Linked DNA regions of Homo sapiens: regions 1 and 2 are each linked to region 3. The links are contacts of gene promoters, found by promoter capture Hi-C in blood cells and fetal thymus (Javierre and others, 2016). All regions are on one chromosome and are shown on one strand. Each heading gives the region's core, a stretch centred on a gene start or on the middle of the fragment in contact. The rest is flanking DNA. Distances are from core to core; before and after follow the strand shown. Region 1 holds the start of DNAAF4-CCPG1 (DNAAF4-CCPG1 readthrough (NMD candidate)). Region 2 overlaps TCF12 (transcription factor 12). Region 3 holds the start of RFX7 (regulatory factor X7).

Region 1 (3,910 bases), core at 1,106-3,605, 740 kb after region 3:
AGCACTTTGGGAGGCCGAGGTGGGCGGATCATGAGGTCAGGAGATCGAGACCATCTTGGCCAATACGGTGAAACCCCGTCCCTACTAAAAATACAAAAATTAGCTGGGCTTCGTGGTGCATGCCCATAGTGCCAGCTACTCAGGAGGCTGAGGCAGGAGAATCGCTTGAACCCCGGAGGTGGAGGTTGCAGTGAGCCGAGATCGCGCCACTGCACTCCAGCCTGGTGAGAGAGTGAGACTCCGTCTGAAAAAACAACAACAAAAAAATCCTTTCTTACTCCAATATCATACAGGTATTTTTTTTTTTAAGTTTCCATTTTTTTTTTTTTTTTTTTTTGAGACTCAGTTTCACTCTTGTTGCTCAGGCTGGAGTGCAATGGCACGCTCTCAGCTCATGGCAACCTCTGCCTCCTGGGTTCAAGCAATTCTCCTGCCTCAGCCTCCCGAGTAGCTGGGATTACAGACATGTGCCACCATGCCTGGCTAATTTTGTATTTTTAGTAGAAACGAGCTTTCTCTATGTTCGTCAGGCTGGTCTTGAACTCCCAACCTCAGGTGATCCGCCCACCTCGGCCTTCCAAAGTGGTGGGATTACAGGCATGAGCCACCACGCCCGGCCAACTTGACAAGTTTTTAAGGTATAATTCATTCAGAGTCTAAAAGTTTAGTAGGATCATGGTAGTCAGGAGAATAATTTCACTGCAGAGGTGTGTATGTGTTTAGCAAAGTGATTGCTAACAGATTTTCCTGAAATCCCCGACAGCACAAAGTATCCTTTACATTATTATCTTTCATGCATATAAAATCTCACATATTTCTGTATAGTGGGAGAACCTGGACTTTAACATTTTATATGAAAGAAATGCATAAACCCTGTCTTTAGAAGATAATGTAAGATTTGGAAACAATATGGTAAAAGTAGGAATAGAACAAAAGGGGGAAAATGACAAAAGAAATTTTTTTAAAAAAGTCCATGGGATTCGTGGGTTTCTCAGCTTAAAGGGACAAGGGAAAGCAAGTCTAGGATGACTCCCAGTATTCAAAGTTACCAGAAGCTTGAGATGATGAACTGCTAAGGTAGTGAGTGTGCCCTATTTTGGGGAAAAGATGGTTTTCTCTTCAAGTCTGTTGCTCCTTATCTTTCCTCAATGAATTTCTAAGGAGCATTGAAATTTGTGTGAAAGAAAGGCTTCCAAAAGTAAATAAGTTTAAAATCCAGGGTTTTGTATTATACTTTCAGATTTCCACAAAGGCCCAGTTTCTCTGTTTTTTTTTTAAAGTTAAAAAAAAGTTGAAAATCAAAAGCCCCAAGTGGGAAGTAATTTGTGTGTATCTAAATATTGTATACATTCACTGTTTTATCCCAGCAATTTATAAACTGGGTGTGCAGAAAGCAGCCTGGAGCAAAAACATTGTAATGGGAGTTAAGAGATCAGGATTTTAATGATGGTCTGCTACTAATCTATACGAAAATGGTTTGTGTATAGGTTTCAGATTCCTTAAATATGTAGAATAAGACTACATAATCTTCAAGCTTCTCTGCAGCACTTAAGTTCAGATTCTACTTAAGCACTTACGGAATGTGTCAGTGTAATTCCAATTTACCCTATTCCAGATTTGTAGCAAAGCATTTGTCAGATGAATCATAGGGTGGTTTCTCTTCAGTTTTCAAACTTTGGAGCAAAACCTATATAGGTGCTTTTGGCGGCCTTACAGTTAATAGGATTTGCAGGATACAATAGTTTTAGACAAGCTCCTGGTATGTGTTGTGAACAAACGTTTTCTGAAGAGGAATTTGGAGCAAAGCAACTATTTCAGGGAACAGTTTGCAAACTGGGGAGTTGAAGCCTTAGGTGTAAAACAAAGGTGCATTCCAGAGAACAAAGGGAGGGTTTGGGTTTTACAGCAAAAGTTTCTGCCCAGGTTCCCAGTCAGGTTCGTTTATACAAATGAACGATTGAACCGCACTTAGTTCTGATTGGTTGATACAGCTGAGCCCTGATTGGTTGAGGCAGGTGAGCCCTATAAGACCCAACACTCAACAGAGGTGTGGGTTTGGGGAGAACGCAGAGTCCATGTGTGACCTCTAGTAGGTAAATGACCACGTGTCTCTATTTTAAATTTAGACCCAGTTAGCCGCTCTGGATGTTGACGGATTGGCTCTTTCAGGTTCACATTTGTTCACAGTCTGTATGACCAAGAAATTTGCAAAACAGAACAACTAGCGCTAACTCTTAATAGCCTCAGTCAGAATAAACAGACAAGACACTGCACCAAGGGCGTATGGGCATTGCACCTGCTCCTCATGGGCTGCTTTCCCGAGCCTTATGCCCACAGCCCTCCTTAGCATTATCGCATTATGAGGCTGGAAGTGCTTTTTTTTTTCTTTCTTTCTTTTTCTTTTCTTTTTTTTTTTTTGAGACGGAGTTTCGCTCTTGTTTCCCAGGCTGGAGTGCAATGGCGCGATTTCGGCTCACTGCGACCCCTGCCTCCCGGGTTCAAGCGATTCTGCTGCCTCAGCCTCAGCCTCCAGAGTAGCTGAGATTACAGGCATGCACCACCACGCCCGGCTAATTTTGTATTTTTAGTAGAGGCGGGGTTTCTCCATGTTGGTCAGGCTGGTCTCGAACTCCCAACCTCAGGTGATCCGCCCGCCTCGGCCTCCCAAAGTTCTGGGATTACAGGCGTGAGCTAGCGCGCCCGACCCACAGAGTGCTTTTTTTTTTTTTTTTTTTTCTCAAGCAGAGGGTATGGGTCTACTTCTTTGAACATTCGCTCAGATCGTAAGGTAACCCCAAGAATCGGCATCACTCTCTGGTCTGGGCGCCTGGATAGTCACGCATGGAGTCCGCGAGGTGCTGGCGCCGGAGCACGCTGGGAACGCCGGGCTCCCGGCCGGCCTGACCCGGAAGGGCTGGCGCATGGTAACCCCAGCTTCCCTAGCAACCAAGCAGGCGCAAGAAGCAACCAGCCGCGCTATCCGCTCCCGTTGCTACCGGAATGCCTCTTCAGGTTAGCGATTACAGCTGGCAGCAGACGAAGACTGCGGTCTTTCTGTCTCTGCCCCTCAAAGGCGTGTGCGTCAGAGACACGGACGTGTTCTGCACGGAAAACTATCTGAAGGTAAGAATGCAAGTCTTGCCTGCCGGTCTCCGGGGGTGTGGTCCGAAGCTTCTGCAAGAGCGCAGCTGGGCACGAGCAACAGGCTCATCTTTGCCGATAAACGTCCTAAATTTTTAATCCTATTAAAAAAATGAATCCCATACAGGTAACACACCATCTGTAGACAGATAATCAGATCAGAGACTACTTTTATCCAGGGCTTCCTCATATGCCTTGCTAATCTTTCACTACCTGGCATAAATTTAGTGGGCCTTTTAGAAAGTTATTTTACCTTTTTCACGTGTTTCTTAATACGCGTGCTTAATTTGTGTAACTAACTTAGTTTCTGTTTTCACCCTTCTGCATAGGTCAACTTTCCTCCATTTTTATTTGAGGCATTTCTTTATGCTCCCATAGACGATGAGAGCAGCAAAGCAAAGATTGGGAATGACACCATTGTCTTCACCTTGTATAAAAAAGAAGCGGCCATGTGGGAGACCCTTTCTGTGACGGGTGGTAAGTTCTTTATTAAAAGATGTTCATCTGGTTGTACCTTTTCGGTTTCAGACCTTTTAAAAAATTTTATTTTGAAGCACCTATATTGTGTAGGGGAAGATAGATTTTTTTTTTTTAAGAGTCTTGCTCTGTCGCCCAGGCTGGAGTGCAGTGACATGATCTCGGCTTACTGCAACCTCTGCCCCCGGGGTTCAAGGGATTCTCCTACCTCAGCCTCTCAAGTAGCTGGGATTATAGGTGTCCGCCACCACGCCCGGCTAAATTTTTTTGTATTTTTGGTAGAGCGTTTTGC
Region 2 (3,885 bases), core at 28-2,527, 680 kb before region 3:
ACAGAAACTTGAATTTGTGTTTAAATGGCTAATGAAAACAAAAACAGTAATTGTAGGTATGCCTCACTATATATAATAAACAAGCCCCTAAAATGTTGTGATCTAATCAAATTGTTTTTCAAATCCATTATAAGCAATGACTACGGGGTTGGGGCGGGGGGGTGGGGGGGCGGTGGACACCATTTGTTTGTGGTTTTTTTTTGTTTTTGGAGACAGAGTCTCATTCTGTTGCCAAGACTGGAGTACACTGGCTGCGCCATCTCAGGTCACTGCAACCTCTGCCTCCCAGGTTCAAGCAATTCTCCCACCCCAGCCTCCTGAGTAGCTGGGATTACAGGTGCCCACCATCACACCCAGCAAGTTTTTGTATTATTAGTAGAAATAGGGTTTCACCATGTTGGCCAGGCTGGTCTCAAACTCCTGACCTCATGTGATCCACCCACCTCGGCCTCCCAAAGTGCTGGGATTACAGGCATGAGCCACCACACCCGACCTTGTTTTTCAATTGTTCAGGAATTGTCCTGAAAAGTATACAATACTCATGGTTGTAATCTTGTCTCTAATTTTTATGTTTTCCAAGTATGAGTTTTCATAAACAGGTTTTCTCTAAAAGACTCCCTTGCTACCTTTTACCTTAAATGAGCAACTTAATAGCAGACCATATTTGTCCTAAAATATATTTTTCCCCACACACCTGCTGACTCTGTGGTTACTCTCATTAATAACTACAGCTTACCTGAAACAAATGTCTAACATGGCTCAATATTAACAAGTATGTATTTACTACAAATTATAGCTATTATAAATTTCAACACTAATATGTACATAATATGAACCACACCCTACTCATAACCTTAAAATACCTTAAGTGAAAGGTCAAACCTGGTTTCCTCTCTAAAATCACCATTCCTATTTCTATCACAGTTCAGTAAAAACCTACAGTGGTACAATTTTGGTTTTCTCTTGATTTTGTTCTTGATATGTTCAAGTAATGCTACAGCAATTTGAAAAGCTTACTCCACGTTTAACAGAGAAAGAAGGCATTTAGTAATCTTACCATTTTTTTAATTACTTGAAAAGTGGATGCAGTTACAAAAGGCCAACACCAAGAATTCCTGTGGTGACAGAACAGTTTTTGCATCTTGACTGTATCACTATCAATAACCTAGTTGTGATACTGTACTAATTTTTCAAGGTGCTATTATTGCAGGAAACTGGGTAAAGGGTATATAGAATCTCTGTATAGTTTCTTACAACTGCATATGAATCTACAACTATCTAAAAATAGAAATACTGAAGAGTAATTTAATGAGAATTCATTTTTCTGGCCCTATGTCAATATTTTCAAAAAGCCTGTAAGTACATCTAAAAATAACCCCCCGCCCCACAAAAAAAGATCAGTAACTGAAAAATGAAAAACTGTATTCCTTTTTAAAAATTAAGAGCCAGAAAATACTTCCTACAATTATCTCTGAAAATTTTGGGCAAAAAGAAACTATACTGTTACAAACGTCTGAATTCAATAAGAAAAAGTGAAGCTTTACTTAATAGTTAAAATGACATTCTAGATAGAAACACCAGAGAGATGCTCAATATCTACAGATGGCTTACAAAATGACAACATCCCTTACTACTTGGATTCAAAAACAAAGGAAATTTTCAGATATCATACAAACAATCTACTAAAAACTAACCCAAAATCACAATCTAGACATACACACTCAAACCCCGAAGTTGAGGACATGGATTTAAACATCTGAACCATTTCCATTTTGTCAATCCTTTTAACCAACTTTCCTTCTATACACTGCCCTTTGTTTCTATACACTGCCCTAATTAGAGTGCCTGACCTTTCACTCCTACAGAAAGAAAAGTTTCTCTCAAGGTCACTTTAGGAACACTTCACAGAGCCTATCATACCAAGTGAACAAATTCACTCTCACCATAACGTGAAGAAAATTTTAACACCCTGATGAAGGAATAACATAACAGATCCTCAAGACAAATTAGTAGTAGTAAACACACCTTTATCTTTTCCAGAGTGACTTCCGACACTCATAAATAACTCAGCCATGATGAGTTATTTGTTTTGCTTCAGGAATAAGATTAAAGATAACATCACATGCTATAGTATATATTCTTTCAGCTAAAAAAGCTTCTGAAAGTATTATATATCGTTTCTCAAAAACAGCCCACTGTGAAATTGAGTCTTCCTCAAAAAGGACAAATAAGAAAGGAAATTACAATACCTGACTATAAACTCTAGTTTTCATAAGTCAAATGGCATGTAGTTTTTATAAATGTTACTCCAAAGACAAAACAGAAAACAAACAAAAAACCCTAATCTTTACTACAGCAGCTCTTCAAAAGGAAAGTCAGATCTTTAGCTCCTTAATAGCTGCAAATACATAGGCATTAGAGTGTATTACATAATATCCTTTGAAATCAGGGCAGAAGGTTATTCAAATGTCAATAAGGTATATAAATATAAAATATATAAGTAAAATAATGTTACTATACCAATTTCTTTTAGACATTCCCTTTAAGAACTGGCCACAGAAAAATTATATCTACCAGTACATCTTGATTTGAAAAAAAATCACATGGCATTTTCTCTTCCCCAAATTCAAATCCATTCACTAATTAAAAGTCACAGCTTTTTTATTACAATTTTTTGTAGCATTTAAAACAAAACACACAGATAAATATTGCTAAGTCCACTGACTACAGGTGTGTAAGTTCAAACCTTTCAATGGATAACAAATCTAACTTTTAAAACTAAAAGTTCCTACTCCAAATAATCAAATATGGTGACCATTCGCAATGTAGAAAAATAATTTTTTCTTTGTGCAATGCAACGTACTGAAGTCCAAAAATTGCTCCAATGCCATGCTTATAATCTATATCCCAGTTCACATACTTTTTAATTTCACAGACTACATAAATCCTTCTTAAGTTTAAAAAGTGAAATAAATGTAATTGCCTTTATTCTAAAAATAGAATGCACTTCTAACAGCAAGTTCCTGGAGTTCATGTTATTGTATCAGTGACTGTCCAGTTATATATATTTACCATAACTTAAGCTGGAACAGTAGGCAACAGTAATATCAAGACTCATTTTTAAAAAATACTAAGCATCATCTACTATGTATTAGTCAAAGTAAATCTGAAGGTTCCTGAGAATGAATTATTAGTTGCAAAAATGAGATGTATCAACACCAGTAAAGAAATACAGCCATCTTCTACAACTTTAAGATTATTAAATTTTCTCCCCCCTCCCCAAAAAGTAACAATTTTCAAATGATTACCAGTAAAAGGAAGGAGGTGAGAGAAGAGTTGGGACTTGCCTATCGTTTCATGATGTCCTTTTGATCAAGAATAATACTAGTCTTTACCCTACTTAAAATCCAAAAAATGCCTTCATTTCACTTACTTAAGATGATTAAGGACATGCTATACTTTCCCCATAAGCTCTAATTTCATAATTAAAAATGAATTTTAATAAATTAGTATACAATTTTTAAAAACAAACTTTTTAGAATGTAAAGTGGTATAAAGTGTTTAGGTGGTTATGAAATTAACCTTATTTTCTGATGTTTTATTCTCACAGTATTTTAAGAAACCAACTATCATTTTACCAGGGGAAATAAAAAGCACCCATCAAAGAGGCATTACTGAGTTTCAGCCCAGAGATTTGACAGTTGGTTTTCTTAAGATGATGCTGTCATGGCTTTAGTTATTTTTTTCATCTCTTAAGCACAAAGAAATAAATTTAAATTAAATAAAAAGTTACAGCTTTTGCACACTGGAATGGACCTTCCTTCTAAAATATTTTTAAATTATGAGTTTTTAAAAGTTAAAAAAAGAAAAAATGCATACTTAAGA
Region 3 (3,895 bases), core at 183-2,682:
CACCCTCAACCCTCACCACGTGCAAGCATTCAGTGTGAGTCTGGGCCTTAAGTCTGTGGGCCAGGAGAGAGGGCACAGTGGACAAAAGCAAGAGGGTTTCAGGCCAAGGCAGGGAACTGAGAACTCAAAGGCCAGGCAACCCAAGCCAATCAGATTCACCATCCACTAGGAGTCTAAAAGGTGGCAGAGCCCCACAGCCCAAAGTCCACACACAGCAGGAAAGTGGCCAGAGGATCTAACAGGTAGAAACCTGATAGACACTCTATCAGAAAAGTTAAAGCTGAAGGGCTCATAACACCCACGGGCCCAAAGAAAGGTCAGTGTGAGCTGAACAGCTGTTCCATTTGGTGCCAGAGGCCTTGGCTGTTGTATTCTACATCCACGCAGCCTCCCTGATCAGCCCCACCTAGAAAAGCCAATTCTTCTGCTCTTAAAGGAGACTGACTTATTTGTGGCAAAGCTATCATTTAGGTATGAATGGGAAGGGGGGGAATGGTGCGGAGTCTGCGGGGGGAGGGCGGGTGTTCAACGGGCTCCAAAGGAAGGAGCTCGTGGCTGACGCCTGAGCCTCCATGTTGTGAGTACTACATGCGTTTCTTTCAGAGGCAGGCAGTGGCCTTGGCTGCAGGGACCCTGACAAGCCGCGACTTGAGCTATGCTTTAGAGCCTGGGTGGAATTGGGAGCGGTATAAAGGAGGGAGGGCATTCCTGGAAAGGGGGTGGGGTGGGGTGGGGAGGTGGAGGGGAACAGCATGAGCAAAGGCACGAAGGAAGAATGAATCTGCTGCGCGTTGAGGATGGCATGGAGACTTCCCTGATTGGAGCCGGGAGTTCTTGCAGGGGGATGGAGGCCGCTATGATTGGATAGTTAAAGTGGGGCCAGATTTGGAGGGCTTTGAATGCCCGACCGAGGAGCACTCAACCCAGCTCCTGACTCGCGATTTCCGTTCAAGACCGAATTACCTAAAGGGTGGTTAATTCCAACGGGTGTTCTTCTTTGGGGGCTTCTGAAAAGTCAGTTTATCGTCTTACCTGCTTCAGTTCTCTTCATTTACTCAGGGAGGAAGTAATCCTCACATGCATGTGCAGGGGAAGGGGGATAATGTTGATTTCTCTTTACTTGCTTTGAAGATGCCTCCCCCGCCCAAATCCCATTTCCACGCCAAATATTATTAAATTTGGTTTCTCCTCCTCCTCCTCACGCAAGTTCTCTTTCTCTCGCCAGCACCTCCCCCACGTTTTCCTGCTCTCCACCAGCCGGGCCGGACTCCTCCCGGCCCCCAGCGGCGCGCTTCCCTGGCCCGCTGGCCCGCGCCGCCCTCCGCGCCGTGCGCCCCCATCCCGGCCCGTCGCGCCCGCGGCCCGCACACCCTGGTCCACGCCCCCCGGCGGAGCGGTAGGTGTTGTGCGGTCTGCGCCGGGCCGCAGTGCGGCTGCGCGCACTGGGCTGCCTCCGGGGCTGGCAGGGCAGCGGCGGCCGCGGCGGCGGCGGGGCCGGGAGCGAGCGGCGGCGGCGGCGGCGGCGTGGGGAGTGGCGTGGAGCGGTGCCTGGGGCTGCAGCAGCACGGGGACCCGGCAGTAGAAAGCCCCGGGGACAAGGAAGGAAGGCTTGGCCGCCAAATCCCTGAGCAACCGTTCTTCTTGGATTTTGGGGGGAGCCTGCCCCCCCCACTTCGTCTTCAAACGCCCCCATCTCACCCCCCCACAGCCCCGGCCGCTGACGGGAGGAGGCGGCGGCGCCAGCGGGGGGCTGAGGGGCGCCGCCATGCCTCTCCCGCGGTGAAGCGCCCCGGCCGTGAGGAGCCGCTGGTCTCCCCGGTGATGTTCCCCAGGCGGCAGGCGAAAGCGACTCACTCGAGCCCTGGGGTAAAGGCCTAGCTTATCCAGCTTCCTTCCTCCTCCTCCTCCTCTTCCCCTCCCCCTCCCCCTCCTCCTCTCCCCCCTTCGTCCTCCCCTCCCGGTCTCTTCCCTCACCCTTCCCCGCGCCCCCATCTTTCCCTCCCTCCCTCCCACCCCTCTGCAGCGATGGCAGAGGAACAACAACAGCCGCCACCACAGCAGCCTGATGCCCATCAGCAGCTTCCCCCCAGCGCCCCCAACTCGGGGGTGGCCCTGCCAGCCCTTGTGCCCGGGCTGCCAGGGACAGAGGCCAGCGCGCTGCAACACAAGATCAAGAACTCCATCTGGTAAGAGGATCCTCCATCGCTCGCGTGAAAAAGCCCAGGCACATTTCTGCTGCAAAGTGGGTGGGGGGCGGCGGGCGGGGGGAGCGGAGGAGGAGGCTGATGCATTCATTGAATGTGGCTTTCCCCAGTCGGGTGCACATTTGTAGGATCTCTGGAGGTGTGCGGACTTTGCATCAATCAGCCCCTGTCTTCTTAGCTAAAAAATGCTTTTACCCCTTCCTCAATTGTGAGTGCAGATAAACAAGTTTTTTGGTTTTATTTTTTCACTCATTGTAACAGAAATATGGGTCGAAATTAAGTCATATTGCATGATGGTGGCATGAATTTGGAACTGGAGAATGTGAAATGTGTTTACTCCTTTTTGCAGCCATAGAAGGAGGAAGAAGTGTATTGTGAATTTTCACCAAACAGATACTGTGCGTAAGAATATTAATATGCAGCACAAAACCTAATGTGTCTCTTCCTTTCAGTTGGGTTAGCTGCTATTTCTGAATGTTTTTGCCTCCCTTATCCTAATATTAAATTTCTTTTTCAGGGAGTTTATTCTTTGCATTGATTGTGAAGAAAGTGCTTTTTTAGTATAAAATATTTTAAGATGGTAGTTTACAACAAAGTGGTTTTTTTTTAAATTAAAATATAGGGAATCAAATGTCTTGCCATTTGTATGTCTTTTTAAAAGAAACCATTGATGGAATATCTTTCGCTATTTTACTTTCTTGTATGAAAATTTCCAATATTTCAGCATTAAACTCCTAAAGTCTAGTGGGAATCTTTTAATAATTAAATACACTAAGTCCATCCACTGTTAGAGCCATTGCAATATTCTTTGAACATGAACTTGCATTGTTTTGTAGGATGCTTCATTAACTGCCTTTTTTAAGTGTAGCAATATTTTTTAAATGGAAAGTAATATTTGGAATTTGGTCTAAGATTGCTTTTAATAGAAGTTTAAAAAGAATTTTATATGGTATTTTAAAAAGCCTTGATTTTGAAAATGGAAATGAAATCTTTGCAGGGCCATCATTGAATATGAGTACTAAAATATCAAAACTCATTTTCTCATTTTGAAAACATATCGTAAAGCAACTGGCGTTGCATGAACAGTATTTGCACATTTTTAAAGTGACAATTTTTAAATACAAGATTTAGGTTAGTTATATAGTAATTTTCATTATTTTCTTGGCATGCATCCATGCCGTCATGATGCTGATATGAAGTAGGTCAGTGCAGGCTTTAATAGTTTCATCAACAGTAGTTGGCAGTTGAGTATCTTGCTTTCAGTTTTAATTTTAAAATGAAGTTTAAATATTTTAAAGGAGAATTTTTTTGGCTTTGACAATAGTCATGTTGTGGCAACTTGAATAGGTCTGATAGATATGATTGGGGTGTGTGTGTGTGTGTGTGACAGAAAGCAGGCTTTATTCTTCAATGGATACCCTCACCCCCTTTTTAAAGCTATAATTTAAAAGAAGAGATGGTGAATATCTTGCTTGCCATCAAGGTTTTCACAAAACCAGTGTGTATGTGTGTGTGTTTTTAACCTCTAGTAACGTGACGTAACTTTGTGTTTCTGAAATCATCATTAAATTGAATTAAGCACCTTGGTTTTACATTCAGATGTGGGAAATCCAAGTTAATGGACTAAAATCTTTTAAGAGAGACAAATTTTAAAAGTTGAATGAGTAATGTATATTTTAATTGATTATGAG

The links. The method cuts DNA at HindIII sites, captures the fragments that hold promoters and counts their contacts. A CHiCAGO score of 5 or more calls a contact.
Region 1: a fragment that was not itself captured here is called in contact with the fragment with the promoter of RFX7 in region 3 in 1 of 17 cell types (naive CD8 T cells); the score reaches 5.4 in naive CD8 T cells.
Region 2: a contact is called between a fragment that was not itself captured here and the fragment with the promoter of RFX7 in region 3, in 1 of 17 cell types (fetal thymus). The highest score is 7.7, in fetal thymus.

The regions. Positions count from the first base shown.
Region 1 is chr15:55,497,420-55,501,329 of GRCh38, reverse strand. It overlaps DNAAF4 (dynein axonemal assembly factor 4), which reads left to right. Exons shown (of 10, transcript NM_130810.4): 2 at 2,746-3,123; 3 at 3,471-3,618. The coding sequence starts at 3,001. DNAAF4-CCPG1 (DNAAF4-CCPG1 readthrough (NMD candidate)) reads left to right here and starts at 2,746. Exons shown (of 16, transcript NR_037923.1): 1 at 2,746-3,123; 2 at 3,471-3,618. The HindIII fragment of the contact is 1,637 bases long and covers 1,537-3,173 here.
Region 2 is chr15:56,921,526-56,925,410 of GRCh38, reverse strand. All of the region lies in intron 3 of TCF12 (transcription factor 12), which reads right to left. Among named protein-coding and RNA genes, the nearest start is that of TCF12, 4.8 kb to the right of the region's middle. The HindIII fragment of the contact is 526 bases long and covers 1,015-1,540 here.
Region 3 is chr15:56,241,416-56,245,310 of GRCh38, reverse strand. It overlaps RFX7 (regulatory factor X7), which reads left to right and starts at 1,432. Exons shown (of 10, transcript NM_022841.7): 1 at 1,432-1,866; 2 at 2,024-2,186. The coding sequence starts at 2,026. LOC124903569 (laforin-like) reads left to right here and starts at 493. Exons shown (of 3, transcript XM_047433428.1): 1 at 493-577; 2 at 1,132-1,328; 3 at 1,429-1,960. The coding sequence starts at 493. The coding sequence ends at 1,878. It also overlaps a transcript of TEX9 not described here. RefSeq lists enhancers at 1-168, 407-456, 169-814, 815-1,460 and silencers at 707-756, 1,247-1,536, 1,687-1,746, 1,837-1,906. The HindIII fragment of the contact is 5,292 bases long and covers 1-3,895 here.